Linked DNA regions of Homo sapiens: all the other regions are linked to region 1. Evidence: promoter capture Hi-C in 16 types of primary human blood cells and fetal thymus (Javierre and others, 2016). All regions are on one chromosome and are shown on one strand. Each heading gives the region's core, a stretch centred on a gene start or on the middle of the fragment in contact. The rest is flanking DNA. Distances are from core to core; before and after follow the strand shown. Region 1 holds the start of RASSF8 (Ras association domain family member 8). Region 2 holds the start of DNAI7 (dynein axonemal intermediate chain 7). Region 3 has its middle 120 kb from the start of LMNTD1.

The links. The method cuts DNA at HindIII sites, captures the fragments that hold promoters and counts their contacts. A CHiCAGO score of 5 or more calls a contact.
Region 2: a contact is called between the fragment with the promoter of DNAI7 here and the fragment with the promoter of RASSF8 in region 1, in 3 of 17 cell types (M1 macrophages, M2 macrophages and fetal thymus). The highest score is 8.3, in M1 macrophages.
Region 3: a contact is called between a fragment that was not itself captured here and the fragment with the promoter of RASSF8 in region 1, in 13 of 17 cell types (endothelial precursors, M1 macrophages, megakaryocytes and 10 more). The highest score is 23.7, in endothelial precursors.

Annotation. Positions count from the first base shown.
Region 1 is chr12:25,956,018-25,960,921 of GRCh38, reverse strand. It overlaps RASSF8 (Ras association domain family member 8), which reads right to left and starts at 2,240. Exons shown (of 6, transcript NM_001394098.1): 1 at 1,774-2,240. It overlaps RASSF8-AS1 (RASSF8 antisense RNA 1), which reads left to right and starts at 1,480. Exons shown (of 4, transcript NR_038228.1): 1 at 1,480-1,596; 2 at 4,158-4,283; 3 at 4,575-4,695. RefSeq lists silencers at 1,629-1,678, 1,819-1,868, 1,939-2,038, 2,139-2,628. The HindIII fragment of the contact is 3,942 bases long and covers 615-4,556 here.
Region 2 is chr12:25,192,172-25,197,075 of GRCh38, reverse strand. It overlaps DNAI7 (dynein axonemal intermediate chain 7), which reads left to right and starts at 1,916. Exons shown (of 16, transcript NM_018272.5): 1 at 1,916-2,000. The coding sequence starts at 1,998. ETFRF1 (electron transfer flavoprotein regulatory factor 1) reads right to left here and starts at 1,839. Exons shown (of 3, transcript NM_001001660.3): 1 at 1,739-1,839. RefSeq lists an enhancer at 1,479-1,598. The HindIII fragment of the contact is 2,518 bases long and covers 1-2,272 here.
Region 3 is chr12:25,432,323-25,437,226 of GRCh38, reverse strand. It overlaps the pseudogene FAM133GP. Among named protein-coding and RNA genes, the nearest start is that of LMNTD1, 120 kb to the left of the region's middle. The HindIII fragment of the contact is 4,168 bases long and covers 70-4,237 here.

The DNA.
Region 1 (4,904 bases), core at 991-3,490:
TAAACAACTTAAACACTCTCTGTTCTTTGTAACTGTTTTTTCCAGAAGCACACTGACACTTCTGCAAAGTGAAGTGCCTTTCCTGCCTGCACAGCCCCATGATTTGCTCCCTCTCAGGGCCCTCTAATGCACCCCTAAGCTACTAAAGCCCAGACATAAGATTTGATCAATAAACCTAGAAAGAACTCAGTGCATTACTGCCAATTGTGTCCATCACAGAAAGTACCACCTGGAGACTCTTGAGGAAAAAAATGAGGAAGGGGGAGATTTTTGAAAGGTTTTATCATCTGTATTACAAATTATATTTTGTTGTACTTGATCCTTGAATAGAATAATCATCAAACTATGTTCAGTCTTCTTCAAGTGGGGGATGGTCATGTGTAATTTTATGGTTTGGGGAGTGTGCCTCATAGAGATAAATAAAATTAAAAGTACCATTAGTATGCCCGCTAAAAGATAAAACTCACACAAACCACTTCCCCAAATGATAGTGCTGTCTCCTGCGTCCTGATTTTTGCGTCCACCCTGCACCTCTCCCTGCAGAAAGCTGGCTGGCATTCACTACCGCCTCACTCTGGCAAAGGACAGGATGTCGAAAACCCATTAAGAAAGCTTCTCATTTTCTGTTCCTTCATAACATGATGGCAACTCCTGGCAACTCCAAGATGAAAGGCAAAAAAGAAAATAAAAACTACCTGGGGCCCCCTACCAGAATGAGTGGTTAATCTAATGGAGAGAAAAGCAGAGATTTATACATATTTTAAAATGCTTCCTGGGGACAAAGCAGATCTAATGAATTGCTGAGCCACAATCTACTGGAAAATCCATAAATGTTCGTCCCTGCTGTCACAGGGCTAGAGGATTTTTTTTTTTAATGAAATGCTTTAATGCTAACCTGACAGGGCTAACCTGACAGGTTTAAGTCAGCTATGAGACGTGATTTGCATTCATTTCGCTTCTAAATCCCTAAAGATCAGCAACAATATTGACCCGCAATTATATATCCTACGTTGCACTGTTCAAGATGCCATTTGAGGCTGGGAAAGTAGTGGTTTAGCAACACCAGGCGGCTCTATGATGCTAAAATAACAACGCAACACTGGATTCCGAACCCAAGTACTCATCTTTTAAAACCCAGTGCCGCACCAGGACCCACATTCAAAGCTCGCGTCCCTTCAAGTTGAATCTTCCGGCTTTGTGCGATTTACCCTCTCAAACTTTCTAGTTTGCAAGTCAGAATTACTTTGAACGTCCCCTCTTCTGGACTCCCCTCCCCAAAGGGACTGGCGGCAAAGGAGAATAGAATGCAGATGGTTAATAGTTCAAATGAAATTTAAAAACCTATAAACCAATATTTTTTTAGAGGAGAAAAGCGTTCACCAAACCGCCACCCGGCAAGCGAGCATCCGATTTCCATCCGGAGGAAAAAATATTTTAAAAACCAGACATAAAATTCCCTTTGCAAGAAAAGTGGCCTCTAAACTCCCTTGCCAAGGACACTGGGAGGAAGCAGAAAAGCAAAGACCAAGCTCGTACTTTTCAGTCCGCGGCTTGTGTGCCGCGAGGAGAGGCGCAAAGGGTGACACACCAGGAAAGGTGAACGCAGAGGGAGCGGGAGCCCGCGGCGGGGCAGGGTGGGGGCGGAACGGACGAGGTACCCAAGGTGCGGAGAGAGGGGCAACCGGGCGGAGGGCAGCTCCGAGGCTGCAGGCGGGACGGGCGGGGTCCCCGGCGCAGCCCGGATCGCCGCCGCTAAGTAAAGTTAATACTTACTCAGTTTCGCAACTGCGCCGCCCCCGCAGGCCGCCCAGAGGGGCCGGCCGGGGCGCTGGGGACGCGGCGGCACCCGGAGCTCCGCGGCCGCCCAGCGCCCGTCCCCGCGCCGCACTCCCCGGCACTCCCCGGCGCTCCCCGCGCCGCGCGCCCCGCACCGGCTGGAGGCCCCGGCCCCCCGGCGTTCCCTCTCCGCGCACCTCCCGGCCCGCGCTAGGTGAGTGTGGACGCCACTGGCGGGGGTGCCGCGGTGCGCGAGCGCTCGGCCAGCGGCAGAGACGCCGCGGGAGCCGCCCCCAGCGCCAACGCCGCCGCGGGCGGGAAGGGCGAGGCTCGGCGAGGCTGGGCGAGGAGCTGGGCGGCAGACGCTGAGCGGGGCGCGGCGCGGGGCGCCGGACGAGCGCGGGCGTAGGAGGAGCGCGGGCGTAGGAGTCGGCGACCCGCTCGCTCCCGCGGCCGGTGCCTCTGGGCTGGGGGCCGGGCTGGGGGCCGGGCCGGGCCGGGCCGGGCCGGGCGGCCAGGCGGCTCCGCCCCTTCGCCGGGCAGCGGCTGAGCGCGCGAGAGGAGCGGCGCGGGGGCGCCCCCCTCGGCCGGGCGCTCGGGTTTCAGCCGCCGCTCCTCCGCGCCCCGCCCGCGCCTGGCCCGCTCGCCGGCGCCGGGAGAGACCTCGTAACGGAACTGGGACGCCAGCGCTGCATTGTGGGAGCTTTTAAAGCGGCGGGGAGCTCGGCGCGACCCTCGGGCCCACCGGGCCACGCTCGCCCGGCCCGCGACGCCCCCCCGCTGTCGCCTGGCCCGCGACGCACCGAGGCCTGAGGACCCGAAAGCCGGGCGCGGGGAGATGACCGGTGGCTCGTGACGGTCCCACGGGCAAAATCTTCCATCGCCCGGGGCTGAGACTTGTCAAACTGCCCTCTACGGTCACCCGGAAAGTAGGAGGCTTTTTCTGCAGAGGGGAAAAAAATCAAAAAGAGCCGTTCCATCCCCCCTCCAAGGACTGGGTTTGAATTGCTTTTCATCTGCAGTGGCTGTGATTCAGCGTCCCTCTTAGCAGCAGGCAATGACAGAGGCAGGAGAGGGGAAAAAAAAAAAGAAAGAAAGAAAAAACACAGCAAATGAATCAAACGGACGTGAGTAACAAAAGTTTAGAAAGAGCTGGGCTCGTATTCAGAAAAAACGCCTCATCCCCCCGCCCCGCTGCACTCCCAACCCCTTTAAAAATAGCAGATAATCAAGAAAGGAAACGGGTGCTTTCATATGGAAATACAGATGTGTATGTTGTTTTCAATATTCTACTGTTTTTTTGTGTGTGGCATGCAATTACTCAGGCACTGGGCAAAATTCAGCCTTTGGATTTTGTGGTCACACATACCCCAACTCCGCAACAGCTATTAATTTGCAGGGCGATGGGGTGCGGATAGTGGATGAGATACAAGAAAGCATTCCAATTAAAATGCCCCCCCCCACCCCGCCTTTTAATTTTCCAGACACTTGCTTTTATTTTTCTTTTTTTAAACATCATCAAAACAAGAATATTAAACTTGAAGCAGAATTTGTTACAGCGTATCTGACTCAGGACCTGATTTAAGGTTTGGGGTTTTTTGGCCCTTTGTTTCTTCCTCTTGTTTTTTGACCTTTAGTTACTCCACACCTCATTAGTTCCTTGACCTGCAGGTGGACTGAGAAGAGAGCCATGGTAAGACTCAAATTTGTCAAATCAACATTTGGAGAGGAGAAAGTTCACTGTGATTCAAATGCAAAACCAAAGGGAATATGATTTAAAAGTCAACCTGGAGGGCATGGATCCTCCCTTAACCCTACTTGACTCTTTTCAAAGGAGTTGCCTAGCCTTAAGGTGAATGTTTCCTAACCTCTCATTCCCTTCTCAGCCTTTCACTCCACTGAACAACATCAGCCATTGCTTAATTGCCAAATCTAATGGAAAAATTTAATTCCCATCTTGTGCCCTTTGTGGCATTTGCCAATGTTGACCTCTCCTTCTTAGAACTTTCTGCCTTTTGGCCGGGCGCGGTGGCTCATGCCTATAACCCCAGCACTTTGGGAGGCCAAGGCTGGCAGATTGCCTGAGGTTGGGAGTTCGAGACCAGCCTGACCAACATGGAGAAACCCCGTCTCTACTAAAAATACAAAATTAGCCGGGCATGGTGGCACATGCCTGCAATCCCAGCAACTGGGAGGCTGAGGCAGGAGAATCGCTTGAACCTGGGAGGCAGAGGTTGCAGTGAGCCGAGATCACGCCATTGCACCCCAGCCTGGGCAACAAGAGCGAAACTCCATCTCAAAAAAAAAAAAAAAAAAAAAAAAAAAACTTTCCTCCTTTCTTTGGCTGTGGTAGTGATCCCTCTTTTGTGTACTTCTTGAAGCAGGTAGCAGGCAAGAGTGTGGTTATCGTTGGACCAGGATTCAGGATCTGACTGAGTAGCTGACTCTTAATCCAGTTTGTGTTGATCACCAGGAGGATCTGGACCTCAGTATTACCACATCTAGAGGTGAGCAAGTTGACTGACTCTTGATAACTAACTCTTATATGATGAGCATTTATATCAGGACAGAACTTCCTGATTGGATAACAATACCTACTATTTAGGAAAAACCCTTCCTAAAAATCCAGGTATCCTCACCTCCAGTCTTACTGATGGCTGCCAAAGTCAGTGAATTTGCCTCCATTCAGTGCTGGATAAGTGCAGAAAAATCTTTACCCTACCTAGCCCATTTGGTTAATGCGTTCTTTCTTCAGAGTGTAGTACAATTTGTTTTAAGCTTTTTTTTTTTTTTGGTAGCTATAATCACATCCCTGTTAAGCCTTCCTGAGATCACACCAAATGTCCTTGATGGGAATTGTAAACAACCCTTACTTCTGGTTTCTAATGATATTCCAGGAAAGGAGCCTAACTAGAGTCAGTGAGTATTCATGCACTTCAAACCCTGTGACATAATAAGATTTGATTTTTAAGAAAACAACTTGAGAGGATGGATTCAGAAAAGAGGCAGATCCAAGGGAGAGTCTAAACTGGAGAGCAGTGGCAATGAACAGGAGGAGGCCATATCGAGAGATGAATTGATCATCTTATAGACCTGGAGGTCAGAAATCTAAAATCAAAGTGTGGGCT
Region 2 (4,904 bases), core at 667-3,166, 760 kb after region 1:
TTCAAGCGATTCCCGTCTCAGCCTCCAGAGCAGCTGGGATTACAGGTGCTGATCACCACGCCCGGCTAATTTTTTGTATTATTTTAGTAGAGACGGGGTTTCACTGTGTTATCCAGGATGGTCTCCATCTCCAGACCTCGTGATCCACCCACTTTGGCCTCTCAAAATGCTGGGATTACAGGCGTGAGCCACCACACCAGGCAATGCAGTTTATCTTTATGCAGTTGACCTTGAAGCATTTAGGTTTACTTTAGCCACTAAGAGAAATAGGTCTCCTTGGGTTCACAATGTAGTGAATAAACAATTTTGAGTTCAGCAGGGCCCTGAGGCTGCTCCTGAACTCTGCATGAAGTCATGGAGGTTACTGTTTTAAGTAAAGAGCCAAGAGTTAAGGACTAAGAGAAGCCCCCTATTATTCTGAAAACTTGGATGTGTGCGCTGGATGAGACAGCGGTTGCAGTCCCCATTGATAGTTTTTTCCCCCTGTCATTCTAGGCTAAGGAGTTAGGACTTAACCAGTTCCAGTTCCAGGCTAATGGAAAATTGTCATTTTACTGGGGGTTATGTGGTGGCCAAAGTTGTTAATCATTGTTCCCCATGGGGTAGATACAGTGAGAGCTTCAGTAAAGCCTTTCCTCTAAAAGCCCACTATTTTAAGGTAACTTGGGATTACTGAACTATCTCCTTACCCCGATGAATCCTAACTTGAGTTGACTGAGGTGTTTTATCATTAAACATTAGTTTTACTGAAACTAATTTAAAAGGAAGCCTTAACTTTCATATCAAACAGCTATGGTAAACTGAGTAAGAACTCTGTACGAAGTCGCTATTAAAATGTTTTTATCTTGCTACCAGGATATGGATGTAAAATGCTAATAACTATTACACAACCTATAATAGTTACAGGTTACAATAGGGATAATAACACTTTAACCCACAAAGACTAGCTTAGTCCTACTACTTATCTATGAATAATGCATGTAGTCAATAACACTGGAAGGGATAGAGCATTATAAACTTATAATTCAGAGATGAGAAATGGTGCCAGTAATTTAAAAGTATTTCAGGTCTCATAATGCTAAAACAGGGTGTAGGTATGCCCTACAATTACAGAGAACTCAGTCGGGCTTGAGGAGAACAGCCTCACTTAATTGTAGTTTTCCTGTCGGTGTAAGGTGCCGGCGTTTCTTCATGTGGGAGGAGACTGAAATTCTAAAGGTTGTGTGGTTAGTAAAATTAGTCTGTGACCTCGGGAAACTAATGAGTCTTTGGGGCCTCAGCGATCTTCATGTTAAGGAATATTTTAGCCAGGAATTGCTTCATTTTCAATTCTTGTTTAGGGCGCTCTTAGGAAAAAGGACGCGTACGCTGCACAGAAAGTAAACAATAGAGCAGAAAGAAGAATCCGAAGGTCATTAATCTTAAAATAACCAACCCTCTGGAGCCAACTTATTTCTCTCTTTAAATTGCGGAATGAGCCCCATCCCCCTGCTGGATTAAACCGCAGAGGCCCAGGCCTCCCACCGGGTGTCCGCTGCATGAACCAGTCGCATGCCTGTTTCCTTCTCGAAACCCTCACAGAAAGACCCAACACACTCTAGGAAATAAACCGTCAACGTCAGGAGACGCTCAGAACCCTCTTCCCACACCCGGTGGTCCTCGCCCAGAGCATATTTCGCCTCCAGACCCCAGGATCCGGGAAATGGAACAAAACTCCCCGGCGGCGGCACTCACGCACTTTCCGGCACGCCGGAGCCGCAAAAGCCTCGACCGCTACGACTCCTCTGTCCGTCTACTGCGAAGCGGGGTGGCGTTGGGGGAGGTGGGCAACCTGTCAGTAAAGGGGGCGGGGCGCCGGCCGGAAGAGCCTCCGCGCGGCTGCGCTCTTTTCCTGGAGCTCAAGTGGGCGGGGCCTGTCGTCCGGGCAACCCGGGAGCGTTTGTCCACACAATTTCTGCTCCGACTCTGCGGACTACTGCAGTGGAGCTTGACTCTTAATGGTGAGCAAGGCAAATGAGGCAGACAGGTGGAGGGGCGACCACTGATTCTGCTTCACCAGTGTTAAATAATGTAATCAAGAGCCAGTCATATTTTACAGCGAAGCGGGTCGGTTTGGGAAATAACTCATACCTTGGGGTGGGTCGGCCCTCTTCTCAGCAATGGCTTTCCTTACCTGGACCAGGCGGACAGGTAGGAGTCCCAAACCAGTTTCTGCAAACGGGAGATGGTCAAAGCTGTCACACGGTATCCTGATCTCGAATGTTGCTAAGCTTGAAAATTGGTCCCAACCTAGTAACTTTCAGTAGTGATAGACGTTCCCACTAAATTTTCTTATTGCAACTTGGCGGAAATGTTTTAGTACTTCTCCAGCAGTTAATTAAAAGCTAATGCAATTTACTCTGCTTTGAAAAAATATTTTATGTCGTCTTTTGTGGGAATATGAATTGTTTTGTGATTCAAGGTTCTCATCCTGCATTAGTTAAATATGATAAGGCTTCTCATTTTGTTTTTCTGCACTCCTCAACTGCCATGTTTTCAGCAAGGAGACAGGCCAACATGTAGCTATGAGAGTATCTCTGATTTTCTTAAATGTGGTTTCCATCAAGACATTTTCTATAATTAAAACCAGAGGAAGTGGAGAATGTAATTACTTATTTAATTCATTAATTAAGGGAAAAATGTGGAGTGCATTCTTTGTACTTGGCACTGGGCTAGAAGCCAAGAATACCAAGAAGAACATGACGACAACTCTGCTTATAGGATACAGATTAAACAAATTAATTACAATACAGCTTTACAACTGTAACAATTGAAGCATCTAAAATGGGGTAACACACAGTTGGAAATGATGAAATTTCAGTGAGGGGAAACAAGGGAAGGAGAGTGGTGCTTTTCAACCTGTTTTAAAGTATAAATACGAGTTTTCCACATATGGTGGGAAGAAATAGGGAGTGGAGGCCTGGCGCGGTGGCTCACCCCTGTAATCCCAGCACTTTGGGAGGCCGAGGCGGGCAGATCACGATGTCAGGAGTTCGAGACCAGCCTGGTCAACATGGTGAAACCCAGTCTCTACTAAAAATACAAAAATTAGCCGGGCGTGTTGGCGCGCACCTGTAATTCCAGCTACTCAGGGGGCTGAAGCAAGAGAATCGCTTGAACCTGGGAGGCGGAGGTTGCAGTGAGCCGAGATTGTGCCACTGCACTCCAGCCTGGGTGACAGAGCGAGACTCCGTCTCAAAAAAAAAAGAGAAAAAAAGAAATAGGGAGTGGAGAGCATTCCTGGCGGAATGCAAATGGACCTTAAGTCAATTTATAATTGCTAATAAATTGGGGGAACAGTAAGCACTTACTTGTTACCTTCCAATTTGTTACCTGAGTTTCTTCTTCTTCTTAGATCCTTCTCCCAATGTTTCTCAAAGTGTGGCCCATGGAACATTTATTTCTAATGCACCCGGAGTACTTGTTAAAAATGCAGATTCCAGGAACCCACTCAACTCCAAATCTACTGTATTAGTTTCCTAAGTCTGCCAAGTAAGGAATTGCCACAAACTGAGTGGTTAAAGAAAAGAAATTTATTGTCTCGTAGTTCTGGAGACTAGAAGTCCAAGATCAAAGTGTCAGCAGGTCTGTGATACCTCTGAGGGCCTTAGGGAGAGATCTGTTCAGACCTTTCCTGGCTTCTAGTAGTTTCTTGGTTTGTGGCAACAAAACTTCATTCTTCACATGGCATTCTCCATCTGAGTATATTAAAATTATTATTATATAAGGACACAAATCATATTGGATTAGGGGCCCACCCTATTCAGTATGGCTTCATCTTAATTTAACTAATAAAATCAGCAGTGACCCTGTCTCCAATTAGATCAAATTCTGAAGTACTGGGGATCAGAATTTCAACGTATGAATTTTTTTTCTTTTTTTTTTTTCTTTTTGAGACTGTCTCGCTTTGTCACCTAGGCTGCAATGCAGTGTCACCATCATGGCTTATCGAAGTCTCAGCCTCCCTGGTTCAAGCAATCTTCCCAACTCAGCCTCCTGAATAGCTGGGAGTACAAGGCACGTGCCACCACACCCAGCTAATTTTTAAATTTTTTTAGACAGGGTCTTGCTTTGTTGCCCAGGCTGCCCTCAAACTCCTGGGCTCAAGTGATTCTCCCACTTTGACCTCCCAAAATGCTGGGATTACAGGAGTAAGCCAGTGCACCCAGCCAACATATGATTTTTTTTTTTTTTTTTTTTTTTGAGGCAGAGTTTCGCTCTGTTGCCCAGGCTGGAATGCAATGGCGCGATCTCGGCTTACTGAAACCTCTGCCTCCCGGGTTCAAGCGATTCTCCTTCAAGCGATTCTCCTGCCTCAGCCTCCCGAGTAGCTGGGATTACAGGTGCATGCCACCACGCCCAGCTAATTTTTGTATTTTTAGTAGAAACGAGGTGTCACCATGTTGGCCAGGCTGGTCTTGACCTCAGGTGATCCCCCTGCCTCGGCCTCCCAAAGTGCTGGGATTACAGCTGTGAGCCACCGCACCCGGACAACATGTAATTTTTTGAGCAATACAATTCAGCCCATAACATCTACTAAACCACAGTGTAGGAAGAGAAGTGAGCATACACACGTTTAGTCCATAAATATGCATTTCTAACAAGCTTCCCATATGATTCTTATGCCCTCTGAACTTTGAGAACTACTTCACTACATAGTGGCTATTATGACATATAGGAGAAATGAGGATATGTACTTACCCCAAACCTGATTTACATTAAAAGCACAAGTGAGAAGTGACAATTTGCCCCTCTTTAAAATATGGCTAATTGAGAACTGGAGCAATGCTATTTACATATTCAGCTGTTTAGTACTTATTTCACGATGGAAGTATGTTAACTATTAATTGATAGAAGCTATGATA
Region 3 (4,904 bases), core at 904-3,403, 520 kb after region 1:
CCCCCCAAAAGGCCCCGGACACCTCTATTTTCTAATAATTAATCTACCCCCCTTTTTCATAAGCAAGCTTGATTTGGTTCCTGTTATCTGCAACTAAAAGATCTTATCTGATACAATACATTTCAAAGAGGCAAACTTCTGCCTTCACCTGATGAACTTTCCAATAAATAATACAGTTGTTCCAAAATGGAAAACGCTTCTCTTATCATTTTGAGGTTTAGACAGCCCTTCATCACTGTGTAGAAGAAATTCTGTCTATTATAAATAGTTGAACTAGATAAACTGAAGGTCCCTTGCTAGTTTGAGATCCTCTGACAAATATCAGGAAAGCCATGATATGGAAAATAGAATAGTTTCACTCTTTTGGGAAATAAAAAATAATGAGTCTCCAAGTGCTCGATAACATTCCAAGAAAGGATGTGTGAGAGTGTATTACATTGCAGGGGGAAAACTGACAGATTCTAGATTTAGCGTTTGTTGGAAAACTGGAACCAAAGTTTACAATGATTTCTCTTTTATTAAATTAATACACACAAAAAGCCTAGAAGCTCAGTATTTGGGATGCATAAAATATAAAAATAAAATATTAAATGAAGTAGCTTTTAAATGTATGTTTTTATTTACTGGCTGAAATGAAAATTGAAAAAGATTGCACAAAATTTTTTGGCAAAATGCTGTAGTATGCTTTCTCTTGATATCACTGCCAACAATGCCCTCTAGTGGTAAACCAAGTAGGCACTGACTAATGGGGGGAAAATGAAACAAGCAAGCCTGCTAAACACATTGGTAAGATTTTCATGAAAATACGAACTTTTAGTGCAGAAGGACCTGCGGCAGGCCTACTTCAGCTGCCTCCCGAGCCAGGTTTCCCTTGGTGGGTGACCGTGTCCCTTGATGAGTGACTGTGCGCTCACTCGGGCACCAAGGAGAAGCAGGACCATCGGGTAGCCTATGTGAATCCAACAGCAATGGCCAGATCAAGGGGTCCAATCCAGTCTTAAGGGCCAACAATCCAGGATTCTCTCCGTCAACCAAGGCCTATCTGGGAAGAAGTGCAAGAGCAACTAGAAAAGAAAAAGAAAAAGGCGCCAAGGCTTTGTATGAATTTGAAGAAAAAACTAGAAAAACACAGGAAGAAATTGTTAAGTGAAAGTAAGAGCTTATCCAAAAAAAGAGAAAAAAAAAGAAAAAGAATAAATCTGGTAGGTATTCATCGTCTTCATCATGCTCTGATTCTTCCAGCAGTTCTTCTGATTCTGAGGATGAGGATAAGAAACATGGAAAAGGGAGAAAGAAAAAGAACCATTCACATAAATCTTCTGAAAGCTCCATGTCAGAAACTGAATCAGACAGTAAGGATAGAAAGACAATAAGGAAGAAAGACTTCTTTTTAAAGAAAAAGAAGGACCCAACTGAGAAAGAAAAAGGCTATTAAACGACTCAGCAAAAAGAAACCCATATTCTGAAGATAAATCTTTATCACCTGAGTCCTTGTCAGAATCAGAGTATATTGAGGAGATAAGAGCAAAAAAGAAGAAAAGCAGTGAAGAATGAGAAAAAACAACACAAAAAAAGGAAAAAGGAGCATGAGAAAAACAGTAAGAAGAGAAAGAAGGCTGCTAGTTCAAGTCCTGACTCATCATAATATTAAGAAAAATCAGGATTCCCTTATAGAGAAAGTACAATGTCTAAGGAAATTTCAACTGTGAAAATTACAACATATTTACTATAATGCATGAATTTTCTTGTTTTTAGAATTATCCTTGGACTGGCCAGACGCAGTGGCTCACGCCTGTAATCCCAGCACTTTGGGAGGCCAAGGCGTGTGAATCACCTGAAGTCAAGAGTTTGAGACCAGCCTGACCAACAGGGTGAAACCCCGTCTCTACTAAAAATACAAAAATTAGCTGGGCCTGGTGGCTGGTGCCTGTAATCCCAGCTAGTTGGAAGGCTGAGGCAGGAGAATCACTTGAACCCGGGAGGCAGAGGTTGCAGTGAACTGAGATGGTGCCACTGCACTCCAGACTGGGCAAAAGAGCAAGACTCCATCTCAAAAAAAAAAAAAGAATTATCCCCAGACTACCCAGTAGCTATTCAAATGCCGCTGTGTGCAAGGGCCGTAAATGTTGCCTGCTGCTTATCTATTCTTTTCTCTTCCAGTGCTTGATAACTCTGGGAGATAATACATTGCAGTAGCACTAGTGGTTACAATATTTGGGAATAAAATTAATATTTTTGACTAGAAGTGTACAATGATAAATCAACAGAAATCCAACTTGAATACATCTTTAAGGTGGAATCAGAAACGGCCAGATGTTAAAAATTTTAAAGTAGTTAAAATTTTTGAAGTAAGGATTACATTGACATTTCAAAATCCGTACTCTGTAGATCAGTGTATTTTAATTTTTTCCCCGTGTAGACTTTTATTTACCTGGGAAAGGTGCTTTTTAGGATGCAGGGAGGAGGTGCTTTGCTGTCTCTTTAAGCTAGGAGAACAACATGCCTTTGATCCTCACACTTCCTGTATTTGAGGAAAGAGTAGCCAGGCTTTATGGAGAGGTCAGAGCTGGGTGCCAGGAGTCTTGCCTTTTACTGAGCTTAGGGACATCCTTGGATTTTGTCATACGCTTCTTTGAATGAACCAGAGAAACAGCCCTTTTGCAGCATGAGAAAGCCCCAAAACCCCTGGGATTTACCTCCACTTCAATAATACTGAATATTTTTTAGCATTAGAATATGCTGGGTCATTTGAATTAATTTTGATGACACTTTGGCTTTGGAGAGAAATGGTTTCAAATAGACACTGGTACACTGGTACTTTTTGAACTTGAAAACTAAATATTCTAAAGTGCATGTTTCATACCATAAAGTTTTAATTAGTCAGGAAAATTCCATGTAACCAGTGATAGTTCCTTTATTTTTTGTATGAAGTTTGTTTAGGCTGCAATGTTTAGCTTTTGTTAACTCCTTTCTCTTGCTGTCTTAAGTTCACTGCTGTGTTTAATGGCACACTTGCCAAGATATTGAGCATATAAAAAGCAGGGTTTTGATTTTTAAAAAAAATACAGCTTCATATTGAGGCTGAGACTTACCATAAACAAGTTGAGTAGCAAGCCTGGTATGCTGTGTCTTGTTACATAAAGCTATCGCCAGAATCTTAGTAAATATAATGTCTTAAAAGTTAAAAAAAAAAAAACAGAAAAAAGAAAATATGAACTTTTACACTTCCAGTTGGTAACTGAATGTTATATTTGGCAATAAAATGAACCTTTACAAGGTACTGCAGCATATACCTTAAAGCACAAGCATGTCAAAGCCAATTTTCCCCTGTGGTTTTCATGAACATATGCCAAACAGCACAGGAAAATAGCCATCTGTAAGGTCTCATTGGGGCATTTCTGGGTCACAACTTCCACTGGTATCTTAAAAGAAATTAAAATCTGCTTTTATGGAGGATGACATCATTCACCAAAAAAACTGCTTTTAAACCCGATTACCTTCGAGAATTATAGCCATCAGGCACCAACAATGACTCATTCCCACTTTCAAGGCTTTATCTGAATTCTGAACTCATCAACCAGGTAAAGTCTCTTTGCTTGAGAATTCTTCAAACTATAGCTCTCAACTGGTGGGGCAAGCTGGTCAAAACAAGTTACAGTTATAGGAATAAAATTTCTCTAATCCTGGCTCAGCAAAGAGCTTCCCAAAGGAACTGCAGGTGAAGTAAAAGAAAGAAGGCAACTTACACAGCTTATTCCCCTCTAATTCAAACCAGCTCTAGTACTCTTATCTAAATCTGGCTTAAAATTTCTTTGTCTTTGCAAATTGTTCTCCTTTCTCTCCACTCCAAGCCTCCTTCCTTCATACTTTCTAATCATTCTCTCTTCCCTTCAGTAGCTGACTGAATATGTGTATGGTATTAAGAGGCACTTGGAGCCTCTTATGACAACTATATTTGTATGAGAATATTTGCTCTGGATGACTTTGTGTAAAGTATTAACCTACTGGCCTGTTTCAGGAATTCTTTTATTTAAACAGAAAGAAACACATCCTCAGAGAACTATGCTGTGAGTTGACAAGGACTGTTAATATTAATTCCTTTAGGAAGACTGAATGGCCACATTCTGTGAATGCTAAATGTTTCCTAGTTTTGCATTGGTAAAAAGGAATTCACAGACTAAATAATAACTCTAGCCTGTATCAACCTTAAACAAAGGCTCATGAGGTAAACTAAGCTTCAATATCATTTTCTCCATTGCCATTTCTGCTGTACCAGAAACAGTCTTTGGAGTCACGTGGCTGGCCTAGGTGTAAATCCCACCATTGCCAGACTTGGCTGTGCTGTTGAGCAAGTCATTTACACAAGCTAATTAAGGAGCTGTTTGGAGACTCACAGAGCAATTGTCTGACAATTTTACCTGCACCTAGCACTAGGCCAAGTGAAAACACAAAGATGTGTAGATGCCAAGATGGCAGGAAATAGTACTGTGTTTCCCAAGTATGGTATATAGAATGATCCCTAACTTATTTGACCCTGGAGACCTTTTTTCTCAGAGCAGGGTAAAAAAACAACAACAGCAATAACAACAACAACAAAAACTCTTTAGGAAATGCTAATACATGATGTTCTCTGGAAGTTTTCAAATTCAAATTATATCCCTTACATTTCTTCAGTCCCACTAGCCTCATTTATTTTATCTTTTATTTCATTTTATTTTATTTTGAGACAGGATCTCATTGTGTTGCCCAGGCTGAAGTGCAGTGGCACAGTCACAGCTCACTGTAACCTCGACCTCCCAGGCTGAAGTGATCCTCCCACCTCAGCCTCCTGAGCAGCTGGGACTACAGACGCATGACACCATGCTTGGTTCATTTTTTATTATTTTTTGTAAAGACAGGGTCTT